3 separate regions of the Homo sapiens genome follow, and regions 1 and 2 are each linked to region 3. The links are contacts of gene promoters, found by promoter capture Hi-C in blood cells and fetal thymus (Javierre and others, 2016). All regions are on one chromosome and are shown on one strand. Each heading gives the region's core, a stretch centred on a gene start or on the middle of the fragment in contact. The rest is flanking DNA. Distances are from core to core; before and after follow the strand shown.

The links. Contacts are between HindIII fragments. The CHiCAGO score rates a contact against its expected background, and 5 or more counts as called.
Region 1: the fragment with the promoter of ACBD3 here is called in contact with the fragment with the promoter of SRP9 in region 3 in 2 of 17 cell types (monocytes and fetal thymus); the score reaches 6.2 in monocytes.
Region 2: a fragment that was not itself captured here is called in contact with the fragment with the promoter of SRP9 in region 3 in 2 of 17 cell types (naive CD4 T cells and non-activated CD4 T cells); the score reaches 5.5 in naive CD4 T cells.

What each region holds. Positions count from the first base shown.
Region 1 is chr1:226,185,435-226,188,134 of GRCh38, reverse strand. It overlaps ACBD3 (acyl-CoA binding domain containing 3), which reads left to right and starts at 1,394. Exons shown (of 8, transcript NM_022735.4): 1 at 1,394-1,745. The coding sequence starts at 1,460. LOC101927247 (a long non-coding RNA gene) reads right to left here and starts at 239. Exons shown (of 2, transcript XR_001738504.2): 1 at 202-239. RefSeq lists silencers at 1,493-1,787, 1,424-1,903. The HindIII fragment of the contact is 12,408 bases long and covers 1-2,700 here.
Region 2 is chr1:226,064,038-226,066,737 of GRCh38, reverse strand. It overlaps H3-3A (H3.3 histone A), which reads right to left. Exons shown (of 4, transcript NM_002107.7): 2 at 2,259-2,409; 3 at 929-1,082. The coding sequence starts at 2,386. Among named protein-coding and RNA genes, the nearest start is that of H3-3A, 2.7 kb to the right of the region's middle. RefSeq lists an enhancer at 2,351-2,420. The HindIII fragment of the contact is 4,122 bases long and covers 1-2,700 here.
Region 3 is chr1:225,776,549-225,779,248 of GRCh38, reverse strand. SRP9 (signal recognition particle 9) reads right to left here and starts at 1,423. Exons shown (of 3, transcript NM_003133.6): 1 at 1,237-1,423. The coding sequence starts at 1,308. RefSeq lists enhancers at 1,084-1,453, 1,704-1,923, 1,670-2,430. The HindIII fragment of the contact is 1,703 bases long and covers 1,263-2,700 here.

The sequences.
Region 1 (2,700 bases), core at 145-2,644, 410 kb before region 3:
TGAAACTTGAGAGAGGTTTCCCAAACTGAACAATAACCCTAAAAAAGTACGTTAACAATATCAGTAATGAGTTGTGATGCTGAAATAAATTTATAAACAATTATTAAGAAACAAATTTAATCAGCCATGCTGGAGAAAAGACTGATCTTTCTCTTTTCTTTATAGAGAATTACAAAATACGCCGGGCGCGGTGGCTCTCACCTGTAATCCCAGCACTTTGGGGAGGCTGAGGCGGGCAGATCACATGAGGTCAGGAGTTTGAGACCAGCCTGGCCAACATGGGGAAACTCTGACTCTACTAAGTTTACAAAAATTAGCCGGGCGTGGTGGTGAGCACCTGTAATCCCAACTACTTGGGAGGCTGAGGCAGGAGAGTTGCTTGAACCCGGGAGGCAGAGGTTGCAGTGAACCGAATTGCACCACTACACTCCAGCCTGGGTGGCACAGCAGGACTGTCTGCAAAAAACAAAAAAAAAAAAAAAAAAAAAAAGTTACAAAATAATTGTTATAGGAAAAGGCAATCAGAAGTACGCAGCCAAAACAAAGGTGGGAAAAATGATCATAAATGGTGCTCCCAAAGTCTGGAAACACAGGTGAATATACATAATGTCGGGGGCGACTTCAATCTTTTAGAAAAAAATAGGTTTCTGGGCTCTCAGACGCCCTGTAGAAGAATATCAGGCAGTCAATGAAAATATTACGGTTATGTGTGTGATGTTTGTGGGTTTTATTAACTTTTAAAATATCATTTGTTTTTTCTTTCTCTTTCTAAATATACATTCACTTTCCTACCCTTCTGCGCGTAACTTTTTGTACTCTTTCCTAATGAGGGTCCCCACAAATTGTATGAGCTGCGCTTCCTGCAAAACCAGGATCAGCCCCGTCTGCAACCTCAAAGTCACTGAATTTCTCTGCAGTCTCAGTTTCCCCTTTTAAAAAAATTGGGAATTTGCCCTGCATTTCCTTAGAGTTGCTGTGAAGGCCAAACGAGATGGTGGTGGGCAAAAGAGCTCTGCCAACCACGCAGGCCCCTGCAAATGTGAAGGGCCTCTGACCTGGAGGGTTGGGTGCTGGCCGACCTCGTCAATCCTCCCTACTCCGACCCCCGCGCGGGGCTCCACTGACCCCGCCCCTGCTGGGCACTGACAGCCGCAGCACCGAACCGAGCGGTGGGGGTGGTAGCACCCGCCCACCTGGAGCAACTGGGATCCGAAAGGATGGGGTGCGGGGGAGGGGAGTTCGGGACCAACGGGAGTTGGGGAGCCTGAAGGGTGGTCGCTGAGCCAGGGCAACTGACGATTCCGGAGGGGGTGGGGCGCCAGGCCTCAGCCCCTCTCCCGGAGCCCTCCAGCCTCCTCAGCAGCGGAAGTTCCGGTGTCGGTAAGCGGAGGTCAGAGGTCAGCAGGAAGTCGATACGTGGCTGCCGTCTGTCCCCGCTGAGGAGGTGCAGCAGCCGGAGATGGCGGCGGTGCTGAACGCAGAGCGACTCGAGGTGTCCGTCGACGGCCTCACGCTCAGCCCGGACCCGGAGGAGCGGCCTGGGGCGGAGGGCGCCCCGCTGCTGCCGCCACCGCTGCCACCGCCCTCGCCACCTGGATCCGGTCGCGGCCCGGGCGCCTCAGGGGAGCAGCCCGAGCCCGGGGAGGCGGCGGCTGGGGGCGCGGCGGAGGAGGCGCGGCGGCTGGAGCAGCGCTGGGGTTTCGGCCTGGAGGAGTTGTACGGCCTGGCACTGCGCTTCTTCAAAGGTGAGCCGGGCCAGCCCCACCCCCGCCGCTTCTGCCCGGCCCCGGGAGCCCGGCGTGGGCTGTGGTCCCCAGGGTGACTGGACCAGACTTGCCCTCACCCACTCATACTGGGCTGTGGTGACTCAAGCGGGGTTCCCTCCTTGGGGGTACCCGAAGTTTGTCACTACCCGCTTGGCCACTAGGTCACACCCCTGACGGGCCTGCAACCTTGGTTTAGCAGTCATGTCCCGCCTCCCAGAGGTTACCGGGACATTTTACCTGATTTAGCTTCTGGGATTTCCAGGAGCCCTGGTGGAAGAATGAGCCCACTTTCTTCCAAAGGATCCCATTCTGGGATTGCCTTTTATTATTATTATTTTTTTAACTGACGCTTTTCTTTTCCTATTTCCCATGGCTTGTCACATCAGAACCCGCCGATTTTTACCCTTAGTGGAAGAAATCTGTCAAGAGGTTCCATACATAGCTTTTCCAGCCATTCTTGGGAACCATAAACTGGAACAGGACTTGATCCCCCGGCAGATTGATGTGGCAGAGAGGAGGAAGTAAAGTGTTAAGCTCATCATCCTCTCCGGCTTGTCAAACTCTTGAGGAGAGATGTCCACTATGTTCTAGTAACTTCTAGGTGGTTAAAATTTTACATTGTAAGCAATGTGCAAGAGTGAATTCTCAGAGTAAGGCCTAACAGTACCTTCTGTGCTTTTCGCATAATTAATTGTTAAATGTCTCTTGTCTTAGAGCAAGATTGTAGTGTGCGGTTTTTTTTTTTTTTAATTGGGTGATTCACTTAGTCGAATGGTGGAGAGACCAATCACATGATTTTTGTCAGTGGGAAAAACTGATGAAAGCCCGTTAGTTTGATTCTTAAAGATACTTAGTCTTGTAGGGCGAATGGACAGGGAGGGACATCAGCAAATGCAACTTTAAAAGTGGTTGCTAGGTTCCACGTACATTCCAG
Region 2 (2,700 bases), core at 159-2,658, 290 kb before region 3:
AGGTCTGCAATGGTGCCTAACAATCAGCATTTTTAACGACCCCCAACTGCATGCTTCTGATGGAGGTGGTAGCTTTACTGTATTCTGGGATACTTGCAACTAAAGAATCCAACCACACAATATAAAATAGGTTACTTAAGTGACTGATGTTAATGACGTCTACATACCTTTATCAAGTATCTTGTAGGAATTTCAAGTTTTGGTCTTAACTTAAACCACAAATATCTCAAATACATAAATATCTCTAGAACAGTATTTCTCTAAGTCCTGACATGCTAGAGATTAAGATTAAATTCAATATGCTCCACATGTAAGTGGCAATCCCTAATCCCCTTTAGGAAACCACAAGGCAAATCCTGGCCCCTTTACACGTCCAGTATCACCTTTAAGCACCGTTCCCCCAATCTTGCCAATCCAATCCTATCCTCCACTCACTGCTCCTTTTACGTCTTAATGCATAATTTTTTAATACTGCCTATTCCCATCCTAGGTATTAAGCTCTCTCTACCTATATGTTTCTTCAGGACCTGAAGAGACATTTCTTTTATTCTAGGCACTGTTGTTTGAAATTGTTACTACAAATATAGACCTCTAGTCTCAAGTTCTTCTTAATGTCCTGCAGCATCCATAAACCAAACCAGAGGATTTTCTTTAAATATTGTTTTTAGTGCAATGTTTCAAAATTTTAAATGGTATAATGGAATGTGCACTAAGCCTTGGAGTCAAATAGGTTCAAATTATGGTTTTGCCATTTTCTACGTGTATGACCTTGAGCAATTTAACCTTTCTGAAGTCTCAACAGTGAAGTAACAATATCAACTACCTGACAGGCTTGTGATTAAATGATATAAGCACATGCAACAATTTGGAACTGTTCTTGGTACACAACAGGAATACAAACTCTGAGTCTTCCCACCCACCATTTTACCTGCAAAGCACCGATAGCTGCGCTCTGGAAGCGCAGATCTGTTTTAAAGTCCTGAGCAATTTCTCGCACCAGACGCTGGAAGGGAAGTTTGCGAATCAGAAGTTCAGTGGACTTCTGATAACGTCTAATTTCACGGAGCGCCACAGTACCAGGCCTTTAAAAAATTAATAAAGAAACTGTTACCAAAAACATAACTAGCACAAAAAGGTAAGTGGGCAGCTTCAAAGAAATGCAGTAATCTTTCAAAAAATAAGCCACCCAACAATTCTTCAGCTTCAGTATCAAATTTCACTGATCAACTTAAGATGTGAACATTCAAATCTAGTAACAATACCTTTAAAGCAAAAAGCATGAAATTAAAATGCATTCTTAGCAAGAAATTCATCAAAGCCCTATTTATTTTCATTTTAAAAAGTTATTCATGTATATAAACCTTGGGAAGGTATTAGCTGTCAGGCTAATGAAGAAGTTGGCTCCCCTCAATTTAGCACCACTCTCCTTCCCTACACCCTCTATTATCTTAAGAGCCCTTAAAGATGACCAACACAACCCAATGAACTTCATTTAAAAATCTGCTTGTGGCATTCAAGTTCTATTTCCCAGAATACCTCTACCCTGACTACAGTTCACCCCTCATCAACTATTAAATTTGAATACACCCGATTGTGCAGTGTTCCTTCCACGTGGAAAAGTTTTTTTTACTAAGTAATTGTCAGCAAGAAATTTACCTCTCATTCTGACTTATTTCTTCCACTGTATGAGCTTTTATTTTAGGTTAATCGTAATATTTGCGGAGGCTAAGTCTAGGCAACTTCTGCCCTCTAATGGCAGATGCCCTTAACAACACAGTGGCTCAGGTAGTTCACAATCAAAAGAGCTAATACAGAAGGAAATAAGCTAATCAAGTAAATGAGGGGGTAGGAACTTTATAAAACACCCAATCTCGATTATATTATTATTTTGCCAAAAACTAGGAAAGATAACCTCAAAAGTGTATTCAAGAAAGCAACACTTAACTATTTTTAAAGAATTACTAATAGTTAACTAAAATGTCAATATATCCCATTAACATTATCAGTGATATACGAGGTCTCCTTAGACCTCCAGGTAAGATTATGGCTTCAAAGTTAAACGTTTTCAATAAAACCTAATACTTAACTTTATATATAAATGATCATACAGTACATTTATTTAAGCAGTAGTTAAGTGTTCAAATGAAAAAAAAAAGTTTCTCTAAAGCAAAAAGTTTTCCTGTTATCCATCTTTTTGTTAAATTATGTGGATACATACAAGAGAGACTTTGTCCCATTTTTTTCCTGTTTTTTAATACCTGTAACGATGAGGTTTCTTCACCCCTCCAGTAGAGGGCGCACTCTTGCGAGCGGCTTTTGTAGCCAGTTGCTTCCTGGGTGCTTTACCACCGGTCGATTTGCGGGCAGTCTGCTTTGTACGAGCCATGGTACAGAGACCTCCTTACTTACCTACCAGCATTGAAAAATCAAAAATCACCATATGCAACTACCAAACATACAACTTTTCCTGCCACGATCACCCCCTCCCCAAATCTGGAAATTATGATCAGTATAAAAAATAATGTTCGTATTGTTATATAATTTGAAAGGGTGAAGATTACGTCTACCCAAAATCTCTTCTTGAAACAAACTAGAGTACTAGAAAATTGTTAGCAGTATCAATCACCTCTCAAAATGCCAATTCTGAGCGACAAACGGCAAAACAAAAATACCTCGAACGGCCTTTGATCCAATTTATTT
Region 3 (2,700 bases), core at 174-2,673:
CGTTTGAACCCAGGAAGTGGAGGTTGCAGCGAGCTGAGATTGAGCCATTGCACTCCAGTCCGGGCGACAGTGCGAGATTTCGTCTCAAAAAAAATAAAACTATTGAAAAAAAAAAAAAAAGATCCTGAGCCCCGGTTTTCCGAGATTTTATCTGCTTTTAATTTTCTTTCTTCTCCGAGGGATACAGTCACAATACACTGGATCTATAATACCCTCCAATAATACCAGCTCCTTAAGGGTTGAACGGAATCTCATTCACCTTTGTGTCTCCCACAGAACCTAATTTAACTTGGGGTCAGTAACACGAGAGTGGGAAATGAATGCAGCATAAAAGAGATAACTGAGTTACAACAAACACAAAACAAAAGAAGCATCATACATAACCAGGTCTGAGGTTTTCAGTATAAAATCCCTTCAATATGCTGAGTTCTAAAAAGAAGCAGAACTTTTAATTAACACGAAGATGCTTCAAATAATTCTTAGACATGACAATAAAATAACCAAAACCTCAAGAGACGAAAAGTAAGACCCGAATGCTAAACTCCCATCACTTGGACTCCTTTGCTTTTTAATAATGAGCTAACCTCTGACATCCACCTCCATTATAATTTTTGTGGGGGCTAAGAATGTATTTCAGAGGTCCATGAATCCCTTAAAATTGTTTGCAAACATTTACTTATACATTTACTTATACCATTTTTCTGAGGAAAGGTGCAAATATTATTCTTATGGTCCCAAAGCCTGTGACTCCCAAAATACTAAGAACCAATATTCTGGGGGGTACAGATGCTTCCAAATTGGAATCTTTCAAGAATGTCTGAGCGGTAGTAGAAAAAACATCATCAGTTTTATATACATGAGGTACCCTTACCGCCTAGGCGGTACAGGAAAAGTGAACCAAGACAAAGGACAGGAAGCTGCAGGGGGAGGAGCCCTGGCTTCAGGGACTCGTAAAACAACCGAAGCCATAAAGGAAGCTGAGGGACTGGGGCGGGAAGATCGATTGCAGAAATGTTTAGGGCTGAGATGAACCTGGCTGTTGCCAGCTTCAGGGCCTCACTGGGCCGCTAGATCAGGGAAGAAGGGGACGAGAGAGCAGAACATTAACTTGGCAGGGTCCATTTGTGTTCATTCCCAGCACCTCCTGGGAGCGCTGGGGAAGCTCCAGGGGCCGAGTGGATGGCGGGAAGACATCCTGGGCTGGGGCCCAAAGCAGCGGCCCCGCCAGCGATTTACCTTCATAGGGTCAGCGAGGTAAAGCTTCTCGGCAGCGCGGCTGAACTCCTCCCAGGTCTGGTACTGCGGCATCGTGGCCTAGAGTGGAAAAGTAAAGAGAAGCAAGGCCTCAGAACCCGGCCCAACAAACTACCTACGTCCGGGAGTCGCCAACCGACGCGAGTCCCAGCAGCCCCAAGATGGCGGCGCCTCCTCGCACCAACGCCTCGCTCCATTGGACAGCCCCGTCCATGCTCGCCCAATGGGCAGGAGGGATGTTGTCAGGGAGTGGGCGGAGCCCAGGGCGTGTGGCTCGAGAGCTGAGCGAGACAAGCGGAGGGCACGGCAACCAATGCCGGCTGCCACAGCGCCCCCGGTAGGGCTGAATGAGTGGCGTCCGTCCCGTGGCCCTCAGGGCTGAACCGCAGCTGCCTTCAACAAAGATTAAGCGGCTCTGCGATAGTCGCTGCATATACGAGGAAGGAGGCGACAGGGCCCAGCTGTCACACAGCTTGGTGAAGAAGCCAGGAGACATAAACACAAGAGTGCAACGGAAAACTTTATATGATAAACATTTATGTCGGGTTAGTGGAGCGCGAAGGAAGAAGGATCTCTTGTGGGTGGGGGGAGACTCACAGAAGCGGTGCAAGCTCAACAGGTAGGCAAGGAAGGGCAGAACACGTAGGCCCATTTTAGATCTGCAGTGTATGTCAGATGACTGGTGTTTAGGAGATGAGGAAGAAGCCATATTATCACTTCTGCAAGGATAAAAAATCTGATCCTCCAAGCAGGAGGATCGCTTGAGCCCGGGAGTCCGAGGCTGCAGTGAGCCATGATCGCGCTACGCACCCAGCCTGGGCTTCAGAGGAAGACGCTGGCGCAAAAGTAAATAAATAAAGAAGATGGCCTGCAGGGGACACCAGGTAAAGGGTATTATATTTTGAGATGGAAAGATTTTGTGCATGTTTATAACTTTTAGAGAAGGACACATAAGAGATAGAAAAATAAAAAATACAAGAGAAAGAAGAAAGCGAGGTCTCGGGAAATATGAAGGGGAAGACCAAAGGCCCAGATGAATAAAAACAGGTGCATTATTGCCTTTGATGGGGTGAGGAGGAGGGAAAAGTCGGGTGAGGGTATAGGTGAGCATGTAGATACGAGGGCAAGAAGGTACATTTTCTTGTCACCTAAGACAGGAGACCACCTTCGTAAATAGGAAGGGTGGTTTTGGATCTTTGAGGAAGCAAGGATGGGTTTGGATCCTTGAGGAGAAGGTTTGGAAAAGCCATTGTGAGAAATGAATAAGGAAGCCTATTAGAAAAAAACAGGTGGGAAGCGGTGGTGCACACCTGCAATCCCAGCACTCTGGGAGGCTGAGGTGGGCAGATCACTTGAAGTCAGGAGTTCAAGACCACCCTGGTCAACATCGTGAAACCCCATCTCTACTAAAAATAAAAAAATTAGTTGGGCTTGGTCGTGGGTGCC